2 separate regions of the Homo sapiens genome follow, and region 1 is linked to region 2. The links are contacts of gene promoters, found by promoter capture Hi-C in human tissues and cell types (Jung and others, 2019). All regions are on one chromosome and are shown on one strand. Each heading gives the region's core, a stretch centred on a gene start or on the middle of the fragment in contact. The rest is flanking DNA. Distances are from core to core; before and after follow the strand shown.

Evidence for each region. The method cuts DNA at HindIII sites, captures the fragments that hold promoters and counts their contacts. A contact is called where the count stands out against the background at its distance.
Region 1: a contact is called between a fragment that was not itself captured here and the fragment with the promoter of PHKG2 in region 2, in 2 of the 25 tissues and cell types used here (dorsolateral prefrontal cortex and spleen).

The regions. Positions count from the first base shown.
Region 1 is chr16:30,940,337-30,943,531 of GRCh38, reverse strand. It overlaps FBXL19 (F-box and leucine rich repeat protein 19), which reads right to left. Exons shown (of 11, transcript NM_001382779.1): 8 at 1,253-1,416; 9 at 996-1,157. Among named protein-coding and RNA genes, the nearest start is that of ORAI3, 7.1 kb to the left of the region's middle. RefSeq lists an enhancer at 26-968 and a silencer at 1,393-1,522. The HindIII fragment of the contact is 5,049 bases long and covers 1-3,195 here.
Region 2 is chr16:30,746,527-30,749,841 of GRCh38, reverse strand. It overlaps PHKG2 (phosphorylase kinase catalytic subunit gamma 2), which reads right to left and starts at 1,417. Exons shown (of 10, transcript NM_000294.3): 1 at 1,352-1,417; 2 at 927-1,039. The coding sequence starts at 1,021. RefSeq lists silencers at 1,191-1,330, 1,371-1,670. The HindIII fragment of the contact is 8,703 bases long and covers 1-3,315 here.

The DNA of each region.
Region 1 (3,195 bases), core at 657-3,156, 190 kb before region 2:
GTGGTGGCGGGCGCCTGTAGTCCCAGCTACTTGGGAGGCTGAGGCAGGAGAATGGCGTGAACCCGGGAGGTGGAGCTTGCAGTGATCCGAGATAGCACCACTGCACTCCAGCCTGGGCGACAGAGCAAGACTTCACCTCAAAAAAAAAAAAAAAAAAAAAAAAATTACAAAAAAATTAGCCAGGCGTGGTGGCACACGCCTGTAGGCCCAGCTACTCAGGAGGCTGAGGTGGGGAGGATCACTTGAACCCAGGAGGCATAAGTTGCAGTAAGCCGAGATCTTGCCACTGCACTCCAGTCTGGGTGACAGAGCCAGATGGTCTCAAAAAACAAAAACAAACAAAAGGATTATCTTATTTCAGGGGACTGCAAATCTCCTTTTGAAAATCTTTCCTCAAACTAGACCTCTCCCATCCTGATTGCTCATTCAAGTTATTCATTCAACAGCTATCTATGGAGCAGCCACTGAGAACGTGCTGGGGGACCAGCCAGCGCTTGCCCTCAGGGAGCTGGAGACCCTGGCAGGAGGGCACAGATGTGCATCAAGGCACTCCACAATTGCCCAGTATTATGCTGGCGGGCTGCTCTCAAAGCTGAGAGGGACTCTGAGCTCAATGTGGGGTGGGATCAGGGAGAGCTTCTTGGAGGAAGTGGCATTTATACCCAGGCCTAAAGGATGATGAGATTTAAGTAGATGAAGAGAGATGGCCTCTGCTCCCAGCATCCCCCTCTGCCAATATGGGCCTCCTGCCCCACCAAACTGCTGAGTCTCACACTCCCTGGGAAAACCCTGTTCCTTTCAAGACTCAGTTCAAAGTACACAGCAGGTGGGTGAATGAATGAATAATGCCCAACCAGGGCCTTCCTATTCAAACTCATGTATTCTTTCCTTTCTTCAAATACTTTACCATCCAGCATGAGTCAGAAGAGACCTGAGAGGCCTCCTACCCTACCCTTGCCCAGCCCATTCTCCAGAAAAGCAAACAGAGGTTGCACCTGGTTTGGTGTCTGGTGGAGGCAGCAGCAACTCCCGGAGCTGGGAGTCTTTAACATCCTCGATCCAGCGGAGGTCCAGGAGCCGCAGGGCTGGCAGTGGGGCTGAGCCCAGGGCAGAGACAGAGAGCCAGGAGCAGCCAGAGAGCACCAGCTCCTGCAGGCCTGCGGAGAGGGGGCAGTCAGGAAGCAGGTGCTGTGAGGACTCCATCCCAGGCCTGTCCCTGTCCCCACCCTGTCCTCCGTACCACACACCCTACCTTGTAGTCGGTTCAGAAGCCACATGAGCTGCTTCTTGGAGACACCTGTCCAGCTGAGGTCCAGGGCACGGGGCTGGCGGCGAACCACACCACTGAGCATGGGCGGGGTCAGTGACTTCCGCCGGCTCAGGTCCATTCGAGGCCACAGACGCTTGTCATAGCACCTGGCGGCCATAGGGGGGAGACAGAGACCTCAGCCCTCAGCTCTCAGCAGCCCACAGTTCCCAGGCTCCCCAGCTCCAAGGGTGCACCCCAGCTCTCTTCTGGCCACACAGACAACAGGGTAGCAAGAAGCACCTGACCTCAGCCAAGAGCACTGGGATTGGAACCCAACTCCATCACTAACTGGAAATGAGACCCTGGGCAAGTCTGTTCCTCTCCCTGAGCCTCAGAAGCCTCGTTTATGATTGAAGGCAATAGCCCCCCCACTCTGCCTGCCCACAGGGCAGCTGTCAGGTCACATGGGCTCATCCCAGCTGTGGGCCTCCCAGCATAGAAAGTGTGCTGCCCAACACATACACAAATGCCACGCATGCTGCCTGATGTCATGCCAAGGGGACTGGTGTTATCCAGTCGTCTCCAGCCACCCTTGGGCTTCTTGATTCCTGACTGAGTTCTGGTGCTCATGGGTCCTTGCCTCCTTTACTCATCTCTGCTTCTGATCCACACCTGTCCCATCTTGACAGCCAGCTGCCCGCAGCTGGACTTACAGCCCTAATATCTTCCCTATTACATTACTGTGTTCCTCCAACTACAATGTAAATTCCACAAGGGCAGATTTGCGTTTTCCACTTTTTGAAAAAAAATTTTTTTTGAGACAGGGTCTCACTCTGTAACCCAGGCTGGACTCAGGCTCACCGCAGCCTCAACCTACTGGGCTCAAGCAATCCTCCCACCTCAGCCTCCTGAGTAGCTGGGACCACAGGCACATGTCACCACGCCTGGCTAATTTTTAAACAATTTTTTTGTAGAGACAGGGTCTCACTATGTTGCCTAGGCTGGTCTTGATCTCCTGGCCTCAAGCGATCCTCCTGCCTTGGCCTCCCAAAACACTGGGATTACAGGCATGAGCTACTGCACCCAGCTGCCCATTTGTAATGAATGAATCAAGCTAGTAACTACTTAAAGCTTCCACTGACCACTCTCCCCCACCTCCTCATCTACAGCATTTCATTTATTCACTCTGATTATAGAAAGCGTTATAGGTCCCAAGTATTGAAGCTACAAAGATGAACGAGTCCTAAGCAACATTAAACAGGTTTCCTAACCCGAGCACTCCACAGGCCTCAACAGACTATCTAACATGCAGTGGGCTGGGTGCAGTGGCTCACACCTGTAATCCCAGCACTTTGGGAGGCCGAGGTGGGTGGATCATGAGGTCAGGAATTCGAGAACAGCCTGGCTGTTCTACTAGTGAAACCCTGTCTCTACTAAAAGTACAAAAAATTAGCTGGGCATGGTGGCGGGCGCCTGTAATCCTAGCTACTCGGGAGGCTGAGGCAGGAGAATTACTTGAACCCGGGAGGCGGAGATTGCAGCGAGCCGAGATCGCACCACTGCACACCAGCTGGGGCAACAGTGAGAGACTCCATCTCAAAAACAAACAAACAAACAAACAAACAAAAAACATGCAGTGAACTGGAGAAGGGCCTCTCAAACGTACTTCCCCAGGAATCCTTCCCCACCTCTCCCAAGGTAATCTAGTAACATTTTGTAGTACACTGAAGTTCCTTTGGACTCAGTTTGAGAACTCTCTTCTCTGAGTTCAGTAGTTCTCAAAGGCATGTCCAGAAATGCCTCTGAGACTCAATAGACTGTGTCAGAAGCAGCAGGCCCAGGAAGCTTTTTTTTTTTTTTCTTGAGACAGTGTCTTGCTTAGTCACCCAGGCTGGGGTGCAGTACTGCGATCACAGCTCACTGCAACCTTAAACTCCTGGGCTCAA
Region 2 (3,315 bases), core at 168-2,667:
TTCACGTGCCAATTTCAGTCACTTCGGGTGGAGTACCTCCAGGGCATACGCATCTTTTCTGCCCTCCCCGTGTTGAGCTTTGTGTTGAAGGCATAAATGAATGAATCCGTGAAAAAATGGGGTTGACCCAAGGTAAGAGTCTAGTCACTAGGTGTTCTCCACTGATCACTGATTCTTCCCATTTAGAACTATTCAGTCAACCAGGCGCGGTGGCTCACGCCTGTAATCCCAGCACTTTGGGAGGCTGAGGCGGGCAGATCACGAGATCAGGAGTTCAAGACCAGCGTGGCCAATATGGTGAAACGCCCGCCTCTACTAAAAATATAAATTAGCCGGCGTGGTGGCGCGCGCCTGTAATCCCAGCTACTCGGGAGGCTGAGGCAGGAGAATCACTTGAACCCAGGAGGCAGAGGTTGTAGTGAGCCGAGATCGCGCCACTGCATTCCGGCCTGGGCGACAGAGCGAGACTCCGTCTCAAAAACAAACAAACAAACAAACAAAACCAACTATCCAGTCTTCTCCTGAGAAAACCTGAACTTGAAAGACACACACACACACACAGACACACACACCACCACCACCAGCACCACCAGCACCAGCACCACCACCACCGAAAGACACACACACACACACACACCACCACCAGCACCACCACCAGCACCACCACCAGCACCACCACCACCAGCACCACCACCAGCACCAGCACCACCACCACCAGCACCAGCACCACCAGCAGCAGCAGCAGCAGCAGCACCACCACCACCACCACCACCACCACCACCACCACCACCACCACCACCACCACCACCACCACCACCACCACCACCACCACCACCACCACCCGCGAACTCTCCAGCCTTCAAACGGAAGCGGGAATGCTGGGGCTCGACCTCTTTGGACCTCCGTTTCCCTGGCCGCGGCCTTACCTGCCGATGACGTCCTTAGGGTCGTACTTCTGGTAAAACTCTTTGGCGGCGGCCCAGTCGGGCAGCTCATCCTCCGGCCCCACGTCCAGCGTCATCCTGAAGGAGGCGGGGGCCTGCGCGGAGGAGGAGGGCAGTGAGGGCAGGGAGGCCCACAGGCTCTGAGACGACCCGCATGGCGGCTCCCGGGGGCGCAGCCCTTGCAGCTGGGGCGCCAGGGTCCTGGGGGGTGGGGGGGGGTGGGGGAAGGACCCGGACTGGGGAGACCCCGCAGAAGAGCCTGGGGGCGGGAGGATGGCAGGGCAGGGAGGGGAGTGGGGAGATGTGCCCAGGAGGCAGGGGGAAGGGGCGCAAGGGCAGGCGGCTGTTGCCGCGCAGGCGCATTCGGGCGGGCGCAGGAAGGGGACGGGGGTCTAGCGCAGGCTCACCTGAGGGGGCAGGCAGAGGAGCCAGGGTCGACGCGAGCTGCGCTGTCGCCGGGTTTGCCTGCAGTCGCTCACCTTAACCCCCGGCGGCGGGCGACAACCCAAGGCTCCGCCTCCATCCTGCCCGCCAATGGTCAGCGCCGCCCGAAGACTGAGGCTCAGAAGCCCTTCCAATTGGAAACCGGCCGCCCAATTGGGGCTGGGGCGTGAGTCGGCGCTCGGCTGGACCTAAGGCTGCAACGCGACGCCGGGGCGCGGCTTCAGACGCGGCCAATCACCGAGTGGCATCTGCGGGACAGCAGAGGGCGGAGCTTGTTGTCACGTGGGCTTGGAGGCCTGGAATGGGACCCGGAAGTTGGGTTTACTGGGAAACGTGATCTCTGGGTGGCGGGGAAGCAGGACCTTCCCGCGCCTCTAGTTCCCAGACTTGAGCAGGGTTCCCTCGGTCTCCTCCAAGCATCCCTAACTGAATTCAGCATTTTCTCTTTTTTCAGACAGGGTCTCGCTCTGTAGCCCACGCTGAGGCTGCAGTGTAGTGGCGCGATCATAGCTCACTGCAGCCTTGAACTTCGGGGCTCAAGCGATCCTCCCGCCTCAGCCTCCCAAAATGCTGGGATTACAGGCTTGAGCCACAACGCCCAGCAAGCTCTTTTCAATATTAGCAGCCTGGCCCAAAGCGCCTGTCCTGAGTACACTCCAGCCCTTAAAACATTTGGACACACGCAGCTTGGACTCCAGCTTGGCCTCTTAGTTCGGACTTAAAATGCCAGAGGAAGCCTTTTCTGTGTCCGCTTCAACTCCTCCTAAATACATCCAAAGCCCTAGCGTTTACTATCTGGGATTTACACACTTTCTCAATCTTCCACCCTCTCCCAAAAGCCTTGTATCACACTCTGTTCTAAACCCACCAGGTTGTTAGATTCTGCCAGGAGTGACTCAGTGCATAGCTCAAACCTGGCATTCACTAACAAATTTTTATGACCGTCTAAGACCTAGGAACTAGACTGAGAGCAATGAAACAACACACACACCCCTACCCTGTGGAGGTTATGTTCCAGCCAAAGAGGAAAAGAATTAACTTATCTCCCTACAGCTATCTTAGAAATGACACTTTGGGATTACAATTATGAGGGAAGAAAAATGAATTCAGGTAACTTTTTATAGAGTACTATGACTCTATACCATCAATCTAAAGGCAAAATTGCAAAAAATCTTGAACTTTACTTAGATTTGTTGTTTGGTAATATAACAGGATAATAATTCTGAAGCTGAGTAATCAATATATTGATGTGACTGGAAGCCAAGGTTCTTAACTGTGGGAATCTGGAATCTGGAATCTGGAATGGGGAAAGTGGAGAAAGAACCCTATGATTGACTGGAATTTTTAAAAAGATTTTTAAAAGATGTAAAGTAGATAACATTAACTATTTACTGGCTCTTACCTCTGCTTTCAGAATGCCCTAAGCAGTAACTTCCCAGTAGAACGCCTAGTGTCTAGATGCTGATTTCTCAATAACAGTACCCAATAAAAGGAACTAAGTCTTTTCAGGAGAAATGGCCAATTTCTAGGCTTCAGCAGGGAAAGTACAAGGTGAGTCTGGAGTGATTTGTGCCAGACATTACTAATGAGCGGGGCTTATCACAAGGACACAGGAACCAGATTGAAAGGGTTTCCATAGGTCAATATCGGGGATAAAAATAATAATGAAGAGCATGAGGGAACTTGCTGATGTGCTGCAAATGTTATATTCCTATAGGTGGTGAGTGACTGACTACACAGGTTTATTTACGTTAAAACATTCGTCGGCTAGGCACGGTTAACTCACGCGTGTAATACCAGCACTTTGGGAGGCTGAGGTGGGTGGATCACAAGGTCAGGTCGAGACCAGCCTGACCAAATGGTGAAATCCCATTTCTACTAAAAATACAAAAATTAGCCGGGCGTGGTGGCACACGCCTGTAATCCT